Linked DNA regions of Homo sapiens: regions 1, 2, 3 and 5 are each linked to region 4. The links are contacts of gene promoters, found by promoter capture Hi-C in human tissues and cell types (Jung and others, 2019). All regions are on one chromosome and are shown on one strand. The core of a region is centred on a gene start or on the middle of the fragment in contact, and the rest is flanking DNA. Distances in the headings are between cores, read along the strand shown.

The links. The method cuts DNA at HindIII sites, captures the fragments that hold promoters and counts their contacts. A contact is called where the count stands out against the background at its distance.
Region 1: a fragment that was not itself captured here is called in contact with the fragment with the promoter of IGDCC4 in region 4 in 1 of the 25 tissues and cell types used here (spleen).
Region 2: a fragment that was not itself captured here is called in contact with the fragment with the promoter of IGDCC4 in region 4 in 1 of the 25 tissues and cell types used here (mesenchymal stem cells).
Region 3: a fragment that was not itself captured here is called in contact with the fragment with the promoter of IGDCC4 in region 4 in 2 of the 25 tissues and cell types used here (heart right ventricle and mesenchymal stem cells).
Region 5: a contact is called between a fragment that was not itself captured here and the fragment with the promoter of IGDCC4 in region 4, in 2 of the 25 tissues and cell types used here (adrenal gland and mesenchymal stem cells).

Annotation. Positions count from the first base shown.
Region 1 is chr15:65,621,638-65,624,337 of GRCh38, reverse strand. It overlaps SLC24A1 (solute carrier family 24 member 1), which reads right to left and starts at 2,400. Exons shown (of 10, transcript NM_004727.3): 1 at 2,246-2,400; 2 at 1-383. The coding sequence starts at 257. LOC102723464 (a long non-coding RNA gene) reads left to right here and starts at 379. Exons shown (of 2, transcript XR_932375.3): 1 at 379-2,700. The HindIII fragment of the contact is 5,071 bases long and covers 1-2,700 here.
Region 2 is chr15:65,191,696-65,194,395 of GRCh38, reverse strand. No RefSeq gene overlaps it. Among named protein-coding and RNA genes, the nearest start is that of CLPX, 7.7 kb to the right of the region's middle. RefSeq lists an enhancer at 2,031-2,325. The HindIII fragment of the contact is 3,805 bases long and covers 1-2,700 here.
Region 3 is chr15:65,559,172-65,561,871 of GRCh38, reverse strand. All of the region lies in intron 5 of HACD3 (3-hydroxyacyl-CoA dehydratase 3), which reads right to left. Among named protein-coding and RNA genes, the nearest start is that of HACD3, 30 kb to the right of the region's middle. The HindIII fragment of the contact is 6,557 bases long and covers 1-2,700 here.
Region 4 is chr15:65,421,641-65,424,340 of GRCh38, reverse strand. IGDCC4 (immunoglobulin superfamily DCC subclass member 4) reads left to right here and starts at 1,394. Exons shown (of 20, transcript NM_020962.3): 1 at 1,394-1,548. The coding sequence starts at 1,479. RefSeq lists enhancers at 582-1,116, 2,092-2,361, 2,382-2,491. The HindIII fragment of the contact is 12,230 bases long and covers 1-2,700 here.
Region 5 is chr15:65,602,916-65,605,615 of GRCh38, reverse strand. INTS14 (integrator complex subunit 14) reads left to right here. Exons shown (of 12, transcript NM_001394796.1): 3 at 380-487. Among named protein-coding and RNA genes, the nearest start is that of INTS14, 6.9 kb to the left of the region's middle. The HindIII fragment of the contact is 4,583 bases long and covers 1-2,700 here.

The sequences.
Region 1 (2,700 bases), core at 5-2,504, 200 kb before region 4:
ATTTCGGAGCTAGGTTTTGAAGGGCTGCTGCTCATCATCATCATCTCTTCACTGGAGAGGTCCCGACTGGCCAGTTTTATAGGCTGATGAGAAGAGACTGCTGCCCACAATGAGGAAAGGCCCCGGGGTCTCCTAAGGTGCTGATAAGTAGAACCGATGATCAACATTCCCAGTAAGAAGAGGAGGCGACTCCAATGAAGCCGCTTTGTCCGGAGTAACCACCTCTCTTGCGGCCCCATCCTGATCAATTTCCCCATGCTGGCCAGTTATATCTGGTTACAGAAGGCCTCTCATTCTGTCCTAAGATGGAGGCTACTCTGGGATTCAGGTTGGTGATCAGAGAAGATTTCTCCATGAAGCCCAGCCAGGGGGTATCCACAACCCTAGGTGGGTAAAAAAAAGAGATTATTTACCACTAAGAGGAGATCTGGGATCCATAACACCCTCATATAGAAAAAAGTGATAATAGAAGCCCCAGGAACACAAAAGTATCATGCATGGGGTCTTTGCAAGAGTAAACTACTCCTGCCCCCTGCTCCAGAGGAAAATGCCTACTCTTAAGAGAAAGAGTGCCTAGGGGTCCTCTGTACTATGTAGGCATGCCAGCCCCCCAGGTTCCTGAGCTGGAGCCTGAGTGCACTATGGAGTCCACCAAGTCCTCCCTGGGCTCTCAGCAAAAGATCTGCCAGTACTCTTCAGGTCCAAGCCTAAGATCCTGGGAGCTCAGTCATCCATAGCTGGTGTCAGGCCACAGGTCTCACCTTATCAAAGGCAGGAAGGAGGTAGGGAGATATGGCTTTAAGCTATAGACAAAAAGAGGCAGCAGTGGAGGGCATTGCCAGGGACATTAAGGCTCCATGTATTTTTTTGAACTGACTTAAAACAATTCCACCATCCAGAGTGGGCAAAGCTTAAAAGTTAATGTTATAGAGCTTCCCAGAGAATATGGCATGGTGGGAGGATCATGGGGAATGGAGTTGAAAGCCTAGACTCCCTGTTCTGCTGCTTACCAGCTGTGTCATCCTGGACAGGCTGAGCCTTGGTGCCTCATCTGTGAAATGGGCATGATAACATATATATTGTTTATGCAAAGATAATCTCTAGAAGGACATCTGGGGAAGGGAAACTGAGGATCAAAGGTCAGAAGGTGACTTATTTTCACTGTATATTCTGTTAGTTTGACCTTTTTATCATGTGCATGTTATAATATTTTTAATTTAAATTAAATTAGAATATGAATAATAACAGTGTCACAGGAATGTTGAGCGAGTAAAAACATATGAAAAGCATTGAACAGGCTGAGCACGGTGGCTCATGCTTGGAATCCCTGCACTTTGGGAGGCTGAGGTGGGCGGATCACTTGAGGTCAGGAGTTCAAAACCAGCCTGGCCAACATGGTGAAACCCCATCTCTACTAAAAATACAAAAGTTAGCCAGGCGTGGTGGTGCATGCCTGTAATCCCAGGTACACAGGAGGCTGAGACAGGAGAATTGCTTGAACCTGGCAGGCAGAGGTTGCAGTGAGTTGAGATCATACCATTGCACTCCAGCCTGAGCAACAGAGCAAGACTCTGTCTCAAAGAAAAAAAAAAAAGAAAAGCACTGAACAGAAAGGTTAGTTTTATACAAGAATGAAGGAGGGAAGAACATGAAAGGCCCTCAAAGAATCCTCATTTTATAAAGAAGGGCATTGAGGCCCAGCCCAAGTAACTATTTATTAAATCTCTAATTAATGTCCACAAACTACTACAAAACAATAACTGGAAATGATTAGTTTTGCATATGATATATTAGAAGTGAGCTGAGTAACCCATGGAATCTGTCTGGTACAACTCCTCATCTGAGATATGAAAACACAGAGGTCCAGAGAGGAGATGTGACTTGCTTAACATCACACAGCTAGTGAGTAGCCAAGCAGATGAGCCTCCTAACTCCCCTTTCTTTCTTGCATGCCACACTAATCAGAGATGCAAAGGTACTTGTCTTAAAAAGCAAGAGAGGGACAAGCAAAAGGAAAAGTAGGAATAAGTGAACTTCCTTCTTTGTCCCTGATTTCTATAATTTTCTTTCCACTATCTCCCTGCAGCCCCCCGATCCTTGCCATGAACTCAACACTTTGCAGCAAGCCCACTCGTATCCCCAGCAGAAATTTCAGAGGGTCTCTCTCTTTCTAATGTTCCTGTGTTATGTAACAGAGCTGAACTGGCACCCCAGCTGATCCCTCCTACCTAATTACATCATTTACCTTCAGACCTTGACATCTGGCTGTCTTCTCAGCTCTGGAAACTTGTCAGAATCCAATATCTCAAAGAGTGGGTCTGAAGCTGGACAGCAGGGAACACCCCATTCTCCTGCCCCCAGCTCTCCTATGGAATCCTAATTCAAGGCAGGGTCGGGTGTGAAGGGCAGCTCAGGGGAAGAATATCCGATCGTGGCTAATACCCACCTCCTCTAAGAAGCTTATCAGGGCATTGTACAAGTTCTGGGTCCCGGTACACCTGACCAAGCCTGAGAGAGTGGGCCTTCCACCAGGGACACAGAGGGGCTCACTGTGGGCCCACAAAGTCAATGGAGGAACTGGGGAGATTTCTCAAACTTGTTTCTAAGCTATGAGAATGAGAGGTGGTCTAGGGTTTCCATGCTTAGATGGTGGAAAGTTTTGAAAAGATTCAGAAGGCGCTCTGAGAAAACGAAGGGAAA
Region 2 (2,700 bases), core at 69-2,568, 230 kb after region 4:
GCTGGAGTGCAGTGGTGCGATCTTGGCTCACTGCAACCTCTGCCCCCGGGGTTCCAGCGATTCTCCTGCCTCAGCCTCCCGAGTAGCTGGGATTACAGGTGTGCACCTCCATGCCCAGCTAATTTTTGTATTTTTAGTAGAGACAGGGTTTCACCATGTTGGCCAGGCTGGTCTTGAACCCCTGACCTCAGGTGATCCACCCACCTCAGCCTCCCAAAGCGCTGGGATTACAGGTGTGAACTGCCGCCAGGCCTAGCCAGCATTCTTGAGTTGAACTCATGATACTTAATTCCTAAGAGTCTTGCCTCCAAAATCAAATGTGCTCCTTGCTAGCTGCATAACTTTCCCCTGGACCTCAATTTACTCACCTATAAATGAAGGATTTCTAAAGCCCTTTTCATGATTTTCAGTGAGGCTAATAGCACCATTCCCAGGATGCTTTCAGTTCATTAAACCACTGCTGATTTGTCGGTTGTTCCCCTGTGGAGACTGCACACTGGATGGACAAAATGCTCATCTCAGGAAAGCCCTAGCGTTTCAGTCTCAGCCTTCTGATCACCCAGTTACTGAGTGCGAATTCTGTGAAGGTCGGTACCATATGGCATGGAGGAGGGGAACAGGCAGGTAGATGGGCAGATCAGGTTGCTTCTGCTTACAAACAAGGGAGTTTTCAAACAATGTTCTCTCAAGTTCAAAGAGTTCTAGCAGCTGACGTGATAAGAGAAAAATGTCACCAAGATGTTGGGACAAGAACAGAGTCTGGAAGGATTGAGAGGACTTAAGCAAAATTAGAGGTAGATGGGGTTTCAGGTAAAGGTGTTGGCTAGAGCCAAAGAATAGAGGTGGGACTGTGCACTGGCAGTCTTTTGATTACAAGTAACAGGGGTGCCAGGTAACCTCAGGAAGGACTGGAACCAAGAATTGCAGAGCCATCAGAATCCAGGTAATCACTCTTTCTGGTTTCAATTAACTTGTCTTCTCTCATGCTCGGTGGCTTTGGTTCTCTCAATTTCTAATTCAATCTTGGGTTACATGCTCTGTTTTTCTTTTTCTTTTCTTTTCTTTTTTCTTTTTTTTTTTTTGAGACAGAGTCTCGCTTTGTTGTCCAGGCTGGAATGCAGTGGCGCCATCTCGGCTCACTGCAAGCTCCGCCTCCCGGGTCCACGCCATTCTCCTGCCTCAACCTCCCGAGTAGCTGGGACTACAGGCGCCCGCCACCACGCCCGGCTAACTTTTTTTGTGTGTATTTTTAGTAGAGGCAGAGTTTCACCGTGTTAGCCAGGATGGTCTCGATGTCCTGACCTCGTGATCCACCCGCCGCGGCCTCCCAAAGTGCTGGGATTACAGGCGTAAGCCACCGCGTCTGGCCTACAATGCTCTGTTTTTCAGACTGTCTCTCTGACTTTATTTCTATTTTTTTTTGTTTGTTTGTTTTTGTTTTTTGAGACGGAGCTGTGCTCTTGTTGCCCAGACTGGAGTGCAATGGCGCGATCTCGGCTCACTGCAACCTCCGCCCCCCGGGTTCAAGCAATTCTCCTGCCTCAGCCTCCTGAGTAGCCGAGATTAAAGGCGCCCGCCACCATGCCAGGCTATTTTTGTTTTGTTTTGTTTTGTTTTTTGTTTTTTGATACGGAGTCTCTCTCTGTTGCCCAGGCTGGAGTGCAGTCGTGCGATCTCGGCTCACTGCATCCTCCACCTCCCACGTTCAACCGATTCTCCTGCCTCACCCTCCCGAGTAGCTGGGATTACAGGCGGGTGCCACCACGCCTGGCTAATTTTTTGTATTTTTAGTAGAGACAGGGTTTCACCGTGTTAGCCAGAATGGTCTCTATCTCCTGACCTCGTGATCCGTCCGCCTCGGCCTCCCAAAGTGCTGGGATTACAGGCGTGAGCCACCGCACCCGGCCAATTTCTCTCTCTTCTTAGCCCCTGTCTCTGTTGCAGTCTCTCCCTCTCACTGTGTGGTCTTTCCTCTCTGCAGGAACCCTTGGTTCTGCTTGCAGATATGCTTTCTCTGTTCCTCTGGGCTCACAGAAGAAGGTGGCCACCCTATTTATATCTCAAGTCAATGAATAGCCCTGTCTTGAAGACCGAATTTGATTGGCCCAGTTTGAATTGGGGCTCCACCTCTAGTCCAATCAACCGTGGCCATGGCAGGGGTGGGAAATACAGGGCAATCCTGCTATCCAATCAAATTCCCTGGAGAGACAATCTGGTTGGCCCAGCTGCAGTTTGCCTCTAGTCCAGTCAACTGTGTCCATGGTGGGGGTGTGGCATATAAAGGGCAGTCCTAAGGCCTTGGGCGGTCGCTCTCACCTACAATTCCAGCACTTTGGGAGGCGGAGGCTAGCAGATCACCTGAGGTCAGGAGTTCAAGACCAGCCTGGCCAACATGGCTAAAAATACAAAAATTGGCCAGGCGCCTGTGGCTCACGCCTGTAATCCCAGCACTTTGGGGGGCCGAGGAGGGTGGATCACCAGGTCAGGAGATCGAGACCATCCTGGCTAACATGGTGAAACCCCGTCTCTATTAAAAATACAAAAAATTAGCCAGGCGTGGTGGCGGACGCCTGTAGTCCCAGCTACTCAGGAGGCTGAGACAGGAGAATGGCGTGAACCCAGGAGGCGGAGGTTGCAGTGAGGCAAGATTGTGCCACTGCACTCCAGCCTGGGCGACAGAGCAAGACTCCGTCTCAAAAA
Region 3 (2,700 bases), core at 173-2,672, 140 kb before region 4:
GGAACCGTAATTTACAGCCTATTGGTCACAAGTTCTGGAGGTTCAGACTCGGGACAGGCTGGGGGCAGGGGTGTGTCTTGGGGACTGAGCCCTCCATCTGTGGGAACCTGATGCTATCTCTAGGTAAACAGTGTCAGAATTGAACCAGAGGGCACCCAGCTGGTGTCTGCTGCAGAACTCATTGCTTGCTTGGTATGTGGGGGAAAAAACCCACCCACTTGGTCACAGAAGTCTTCTGTGTTGATTGTTGTTGAGTAAGAAAATAGGAAAAAGCAGTTGAGTGTTGTAGTGTTGTATTTTTTCCATAACACCTGGCAAAAAAATGAGTGGCCATCTGAAGAGGCATTACAAAAAGGAAATAAAGATTTCCTCAGCTCCGGCTCAATTTTTTTTTTCTTTTTTTTTTGAGACAGAGTCTTGCTCTGTCACCCAGGCTGGAGTGCAGTGGCACAATCTCGGCTCACTGCACGCTCCACCTCCCAGGTTCAAGCAATTCTCCTGCCTCAGCCTCCCGAGTAGCTGAGATTACAGGCTTCCGCCACCACGCCCGGCTAATTTTTGTATTTTAGCAGAGACAGGGTTTCATCATGTTGGCCAGGGTGGTCTTAAACTCCTAACCTCAGGTGATCTGCCCACCTTGGCCTCCCAAAGTGCTGGGATTACAGGCATGAGCCACCGTGCCTGGCCCTCCAGTCATCTTAATATAATCCATAGTTTCTTCTTTTCTGGAATTTCTTTAAGGTCACTGAGGTCAAACTAGCTCAAAGAGACAGATACAGTAAATGAAAAAAACAACCCTGATATTTGGTTATATATTCACTCAACCAAGCATTAACTGAATACCTACAATGTGCAAGGTACTGTGAGAAGAACTACTGGGATACAAAGGTAGTTCAAGGCTGCCCTCAGAGCTTACAATCTAAAAACTGTAATACCAGGTGGGGAGTAACAAGTAATGTCTTGTGAAACTTTCAAGGTGAAAAAACGACATTAGGCTGGAGAAGTAGGCATCAAGCTAGTCTACATGGATAAAGCTGGTATCTAATCCGGGCTTTTTTTTTTTTTTTTTTGAGATAGGGTCTCACTCTGTTCCCAGGTTAGAATGCAGTGGTGGGACCATAGCTCTCTGCAGCCCTGACCTCCTGGAGTCAACCCATCCTCCCACCTCACCGCCCAAGTAGTTAGTTCTACAGGTCTGTGCCACCACACCTTGCTAATTTTATATTCCATTATGTTTTGTAGAAACACAGTCTTGCTACGTTGCCCAGTCTGATCTCGAACTCCTGGCCTAAAAGATCCTCCCGCCTCAGTCTCCCAAAGTGCTGGGATTAGAGGCATGAGCCATCATACTTGGCCTGATCTGGGCTTTGAAAGATGGGCAGACTGAGGACATAACCAAAGCAGGACAATTTCAAACCAACATGCAGGAAAATAAGGGACATTAATTTTATCTGCAGCCTAAGATTCATGAAGATACAGCCAATTACAGAGTAAAGGAAGAAACAAGAGGCTTTGACAGAGTCATTGTTGAGTCAAAGGAGTAGGGTAAAGAAAAGGACAGTTCTTAAGAGGAGATCTATGGTGTTCAGATTTTGCTGCTACATATTTATTCCTAGGCTACAGATATTCTGCAAAGACATCTGGTTGGTCCTCAAATAATCACATTTAATAATGTGGTCAATCAAAAGCAGCCTAAGCCAGGCACAGTGGCATATGCCTGTAATCCCAGCTACTTGGGAGGCTGAGGTAGAAGGATCACTTGAGCCCAGTATCTTAAGATCAGCCTGGACAGCATAGCAAGACCCCATCTCAAAAAAAAAAAAACAACACAGCCTTATCCTAAGACTCCAAAAAATGTCAGACTTCTAGCAACATTTAGCTAATTAAAAGTTATTTCTTCAAAACTACAAAAATCTATTACACTTCCCCACCATAAAGAACTTCCTTGTTCAGAAAACTTTATGAATTTAGGTAAAACAGTTAAAGCTTTACCTAACACCCAAAAAATCCATATATTAGAATTTTTATCTATTTTTGAAGTTTATCCCTTTAAGACACCAAAACATTAATTTAAATCTCAAAGTGGCTTTTTTATGTTGTTATTCTTTGCCTCCACTGAACCTCTCCCCTCCTCGGCTTTCCTGAAAGAATATTCCCCTAAGGTAGTCGCTATTCAAATATTTTTTAAAATTCCTTCTCAAAAGAAACCTTATTCGGAATGCCAACACATAACACTCAAAAGAGAGCTGCTCTGACTGAGGTAGACCTGTTTGTGTGATCTACTCCTCCAAAGCATCTCTGGGAACCCCCTGGGGCACCATGGAACACAGTTTGAAAACTACTGCTCCAAAACTTTCCCCTCCCTTATTTATGGCATGCTAGATAAGTACCACTAAAATTTGAAAAATTTCAACTTAGAACAAGTAAGAAGGACTTATTTCATTCTGCTTTTCAGAGGTAGTTTTACATACACCTGCAGTTCCCTCACTAAGAATGTAAGCCCTTTTGAGTATAGGCGCTACGATGGATCCCTCTGGCTCTTAGTCAAGGGCCCAGCACAATGCTTGCCACACAGCATGACTTTAACAGATAGCTGCTGAATTTAATCTAACTACATCACCCAGAAGATAATACACTTACAGAGCTTCCTGCTTAAAGTGGTTAGACGGAAACAGAAATTGATTTGTTAAAGGTTAATGA
Region 4 (2,700 bases), core at 145-2,644:
AGAAAAGATCAGGATGAGTTTGTCTACTAGACAGCTAAAGGAACTGGGGCCTGGATGGCTGGATACAGAAGTCCAGGGTTCAGGAAAGATGGTCTAGGCTGAAAGTATACATTTGGGCATCATTAGCATAAAGATGCTCTTTAAAGCCTTGAGGACCAGATGAGATCACTAAGGGAAGCAAGTGTTTCAAGGAAGAGGGAGTGATTCACTAAGTCAAATGCTGCTGATAGGGCAAGTGAAGATGGGGCGTGGCAATGAATGAATAAACGCCAGGCCTGTTAGATATGCAAAGCGCCAGTGATTATTGAGGGTTAACTGACAACAGACAGGTGTAGAGACAAGATGGCTCTAAGTCACAGGAACACTTAGAGACACAGGGAAGGGAAGAACTATGGCATCTTGGAGTTGGAAAGGACCTTAACTAGGTCATTGAATCTGTACTCTTTTCCCCACCCTAGCCTGACAATTGAACCCTTGGCTGTAGAACAAGAAATATTTGCGGGATACTGAGGCAAACAGTCTGGCTAGGTAGGTTAGAGAAAGTACCGTTGAAGAATGAGAAAAAGGGTACTTCAGTAAATGCTGGACAGCAGAGGCAGGGTGAGGGAGTGGAGATGACCTTCCGAAGTCAGAAAACCAAGGTTCAGGTCCTGTATCTGCTGCTCCCTAGCCTCCTGTCCTTGGGCAAGTCACTTCACCTTCTCCAGCCTCAGTTTCCCCATGCGGCGACATCTGAATATGGTAGTGCTTGAAGGTAGTGTAAAAGTGTCCTGCCTGTGTTAGTTACTGCCAGAGCAAGGGAAGGAGGCCAAGAGAAGCCCTTGGTTTGGGATGGCAGATAGGACTATCAAGATCTCCGCAGGTGGGCTGGCGCAACGTGTGGAGAAGCGAACCAGCATTCAGGCCAGGACCTGGGCTGGAATGGACTGGGCTCGGGTGGCAAGGGGGCCATCTGGACAAAGACCGTGGCCCTGAATCTGCCTCCCCTGAGCCTGGAACGGAGGTGGAGACCCCGAGGCAGCAACAGGGAGAAGAAATAGAGACGCTGAGGCAGAGAGACCAGAAGACTCAGAGACGGGGAGACTAAGAGACAGACCCAGCAACAGGCGGCCTCACGGGGGCCCGCGGCGACCCGGAGAGGGCGAGGCACCGGGACACAGACCCGGGCCGAGAGGAGCCCCCGCGAGGCGCAGGGCCGTGGCGCGCGGGCGCAGGGTCCCCGGCGGGGCCAGGGTGGCCACACTCGCCGGGCGCCCCCTCCCGGGCCGCTCGCCCAAGATGGCGATGGAGGGGCGGGTGAGGCGGCAGCGGCCCTGGCCCCCGCGCCGGCCCCAGCTCGGGCCCGGGCCCCCGAGGCCGCGCCCCCGCCCGCGGCGCCGCGCCTCCCCGGGCCACTGACGCCCGGCGCGCTCTCCCCCCGCGGCGGCGGCCGAAGCACGGGGAGGCGGCGGCGGCGGCGGCGGCCCGAGCCCAGCCCCATGGCGCGGGGGGACGCCGGCCGCGGCCGCGGGCTCCTCGCGTTGACCTTCTGCCTGTTGGCCGCGCGCGGTAAGGGCGGGCGCCCGGAGAGGCAGGAGCGACTGCGGAGTGCTGGTGCGCCCGCGCCCTGGTCTGCATCGGGCTGCGGGGCTGGCTCAAGCCGGAGTCCCGAGCAAGTGCGGGGGCTGCGCGTCCAGGTGCCCGCGATGCCTGCGCGGGGGTCTGCGAGCTGCGGCCGGGGGGCGTTTGTGGGGCGTGCTTGTCCGCAGTGGGTGTGTGCCTTTGGTTCGCAGAGTCTGGAGTCGTGTGTGTGTGTGTGTGTGTGTGTGTGTGTGTGTGTGTTGGGAGTGCTCCTGTCGTGTCCGCAGTGCGTGCCATGGTCGCGGCGTGGCATCGGCGGGGCGGGTAGCTGCGGTGTCGGTGGCTTTCGCGGGGCGGGCTCTGCCTTGCCTGCGCGTGTCTTGGGTTGAGAGTGTGTGTAAAAGAGGAGGGAACTGGGGTTGTGTCTGCACCTCCATTTGGGTCGGGTGCGTGTGCAATTGTGTTTATGGGGCTGAGCTAATATTTGGCCTTGGCATTTGGGAAGTGTCCTTGCCCATAGTGGGGGACAGAGCGATGGATCCCGTTTGACTGGGGGTGGTGGTGATAAAACAACACTCAACTTTGCCCAGTGGGTGTGGTCCCTGGGGCCGGTTAGAGAGGGGTAGAGGGAGGTGTTGCTCCCCAAAACCTGTGGCCAGCAGTGGACTGGGGGAGGGGGCAGGAAACCATTTGCTTTCGTGGACATGTCCAGCGCTTGTTCTCACGATGGGACGCGTGTCACCCCGGCCCCACCCCCCAGGGACCGACCAGGGAAGCGTGGACGAGGTCAGCAGGGCCTCATCCAGTCCGCAGCCCAGTGCGGAGTGGGTACGGGGTAAGTCAGAGTTGTCCAAGCTGGAGAAAGGGCTGGGGAGGGGATAGCGAAGTCCCCAAGGGTGTGTGTCTAGGGCTGCGGCTTCCACCCACAGCTCTGTCGCTTCCTGTCCGGTGTGCGTTTGGGGGCGGCTCATGGGGAGTGTAGGTGGCAGGGCTGGGAGGGGGATGGGCTGGCCGCTTTGTTCGCCTAGTTCTTGCCTTCCCCGCGGAGGGGGGAGCTGAGGATGTGTCCGGGGAGAGTCGGGGAGGGACTTGGAGGTGGGGGTGGGGAGGGGGATTTCTCTCCAGCTGCTGCGGCTTTCC
Region 5 (2,700 bases), core at 67-2,566, 180 kb before region 4:
TGTGATAGCTAAATGCATAAAAGTGCCTAGGATGGTGTTTAGAACATAGTTAATATTCAATAGATTTTGTTATTATTTTTGTGATGTGTTTAAAAGTTCCTTTTAATTTTTTCCTTCAAAGTCCACTTAACAAAAATGTAAACTTGGTGGACTGTTCACTCTTACCTGATAAGAGGATAGAATAAATGGAATTCTTTTAACTATCTTTAATAGTTGAAGAAGTCTGTTCTAGCATTTTTCTTTAAGAAGCTATGCTTTGGTGCTCTCAGATACATCAGTGTCCCCTGTGTAACATTCATACTTTGAACAATTTATGTTGTTTTCTAATACCTAATTAAAACTAAAGAGTAACTAGCAATTTTATCTTTTATTCAATAAGGAAGCACTAAGTAATATGGATGATTATGACAAAACCTGCTTGGAGTCTGCATTAGTTGGTGTTTGCAATATCGTTCAGCAAGAATGGGGTGGTGCAATTCCTTGCCAGGTAATGATCAATTCTTTTTCATTGCCCTAAGTTAACAACATTAACCACTGAGGTGCTTCGATTTTCTTCAGGCTCTGACACAGCATGCATTGTAATTTCTACAAACTACATTTTACACTATTGGTATCTTCTTAAGTGAAGGTACTAAATCAACACTAATGTGTTCAGAAAGCAGCAAAGTTATGCCTTAAGGAAAGCATCCTCCTAGTAAATTGACTTATTGCAAACTAGTACTGTTATATAAAACACAAAGGGCTCACAGTGGAATTTTTGAACTACAATCCCTGGAAGGGGTCATTATAATTTTGAGTGATAAAATTGTAAACATCAGTATAATATAGCCTGTCTTCATTATCTCAATGCAATTATTCAGCAGACTTTTTTTTTTTTTTTTTTTTGGAGACAGGGTCTCACTTTGTTGCCCAGGCTGGAGTGCAGTGGAGCTATTATGGCTCACTGTAGCTTCAACCACCGAGGCTCAGGTGATTCTCCCACTTCGTCCTCCTGAGTAGCTGAGACTACAGGCAAATGCCACCATACCTGGCTAATTTTTTACATTTTTTGTAGAGACCAGGTTTTGCCATATTGCCCAGGTTGGTCTCAAACTCCTGGCTCAGGCGATCCGCCCACCTCGTCTCCCAAAGTGTTGGGATTACAGGGGTGAGCCACTGTGCCCAGCTTTATTCAGCAAACTTAACCATCTCAACTGAGTTGTCTAAAAAGTGAGGAGTATAAAACATAAAATCTAGCCAGGCGCGGTGGCTCATGCCTATAATCCCAGCAGTTTGGGAGGCTGAGGTGGACGGATCACCAGGTCAAGAGATCGAGACCATCCTGGCCAACATGGTGAAACCCCCATCTCTACTAAAAATACAAAAATTAGCTGGGTGTGGTGGTGTGCACCTGTAGTCCCAGCTACTCTGGAGGCTGAGGCGGGAGAATCACTTGAACGTGGGAGGCAGAGGTTGCAGTCAGCCGAGATTGCGCCACTGCACTCCAGCCTAGCGACAGAGCGAGACTGTGTGGCAAAAACAAACAAACATAAAGTCTGTTGCTCTTTACTTAGACTCCACAGTAGGCCACATTAGTATCAAATCAGAGCAGAGTAGTAGCAGAAAAAGATAACTGGAAATTTGTTCTATACAGATACTTTTGAAAAGTAGTAGCATATTTTGAAGGAAAAAGCAGAAACATTGCTAAAAGAAAAATCATAATAGTCTACAACAGGAGTCCGCAAGTTTTTTTGTATTTTAGGCTTTGTAGGTGTCTGTGGCAACTACTCAGCTCTGCTGTTATAGCATGAAAGCAGCCATAGATAATAAGTAAATGAATGGGTAGGGCTGTGTTTAAATAAAACTTTATTTACAAAAACAGACAGTGGGCCAAATTTAGCCTGTGGGCCATGGTTGGCTGGACCCTGGTGTGTGACTTTTCATTATGGGGTCAAACAAAGGATTCCTCAGTAATGTCAGTAGCATCACTAGTATTTATTTATTAATAAAAAAAAAAAAAGATTGTAGCTAGGCATGGTGGCTCACACCTATAATCCTAGCACTTTGTGAGGCCAAGGTGGGAGGATAACTTGAGCCCAGGAGTTCAAGACCAGCCTGGACCACATAGTGAGGCCCTGTCTTAAAAAAAATAAGATTGTAGTTGCCTGGGAGTCAGGGAAAGGTATGAATTGACTCAAAAGAAGCAGGAGGGAATCTGGGACGTGTTGGGACTATTCTTTATCTTGTTTGTGGGGGTGGTTACACGACTGAATACAACTGTCAAAACTCATAGAACTGTATACTAAAAAGGGTGATTTTACTGCATGTAAGTTATATCTCAATAAACTCACCTTTAGAAAACAACAAAAACATTTTTTCTTGTGAAAACCTCCCTGTTTTATAGAATATAGTGGATACTTGCTGAAGAAATCAATAGATGCCTTTTGATCAATTTCTTTTCTGAAATAAAAAAGCTTTTTATGGCATCTCAGCTTATAGGCATTACTTATTTTGGTAAATCCATGCATATAGGATGTCTTATTTCCTAACATTATAGTGAATAAATGAAGTTTTGTTGTCAGTATCTTCTGAACTGAAAGCTAGCAAGTAGCACAGTTTCATTTGCTATTTCTTCTTTGGTTTTAGAGGAGAAATTCAGATTTTAAGAACCAGACCTTGTGCATCATGCAGACTTCTGACTTTTATGATTTTCTTCTTTTG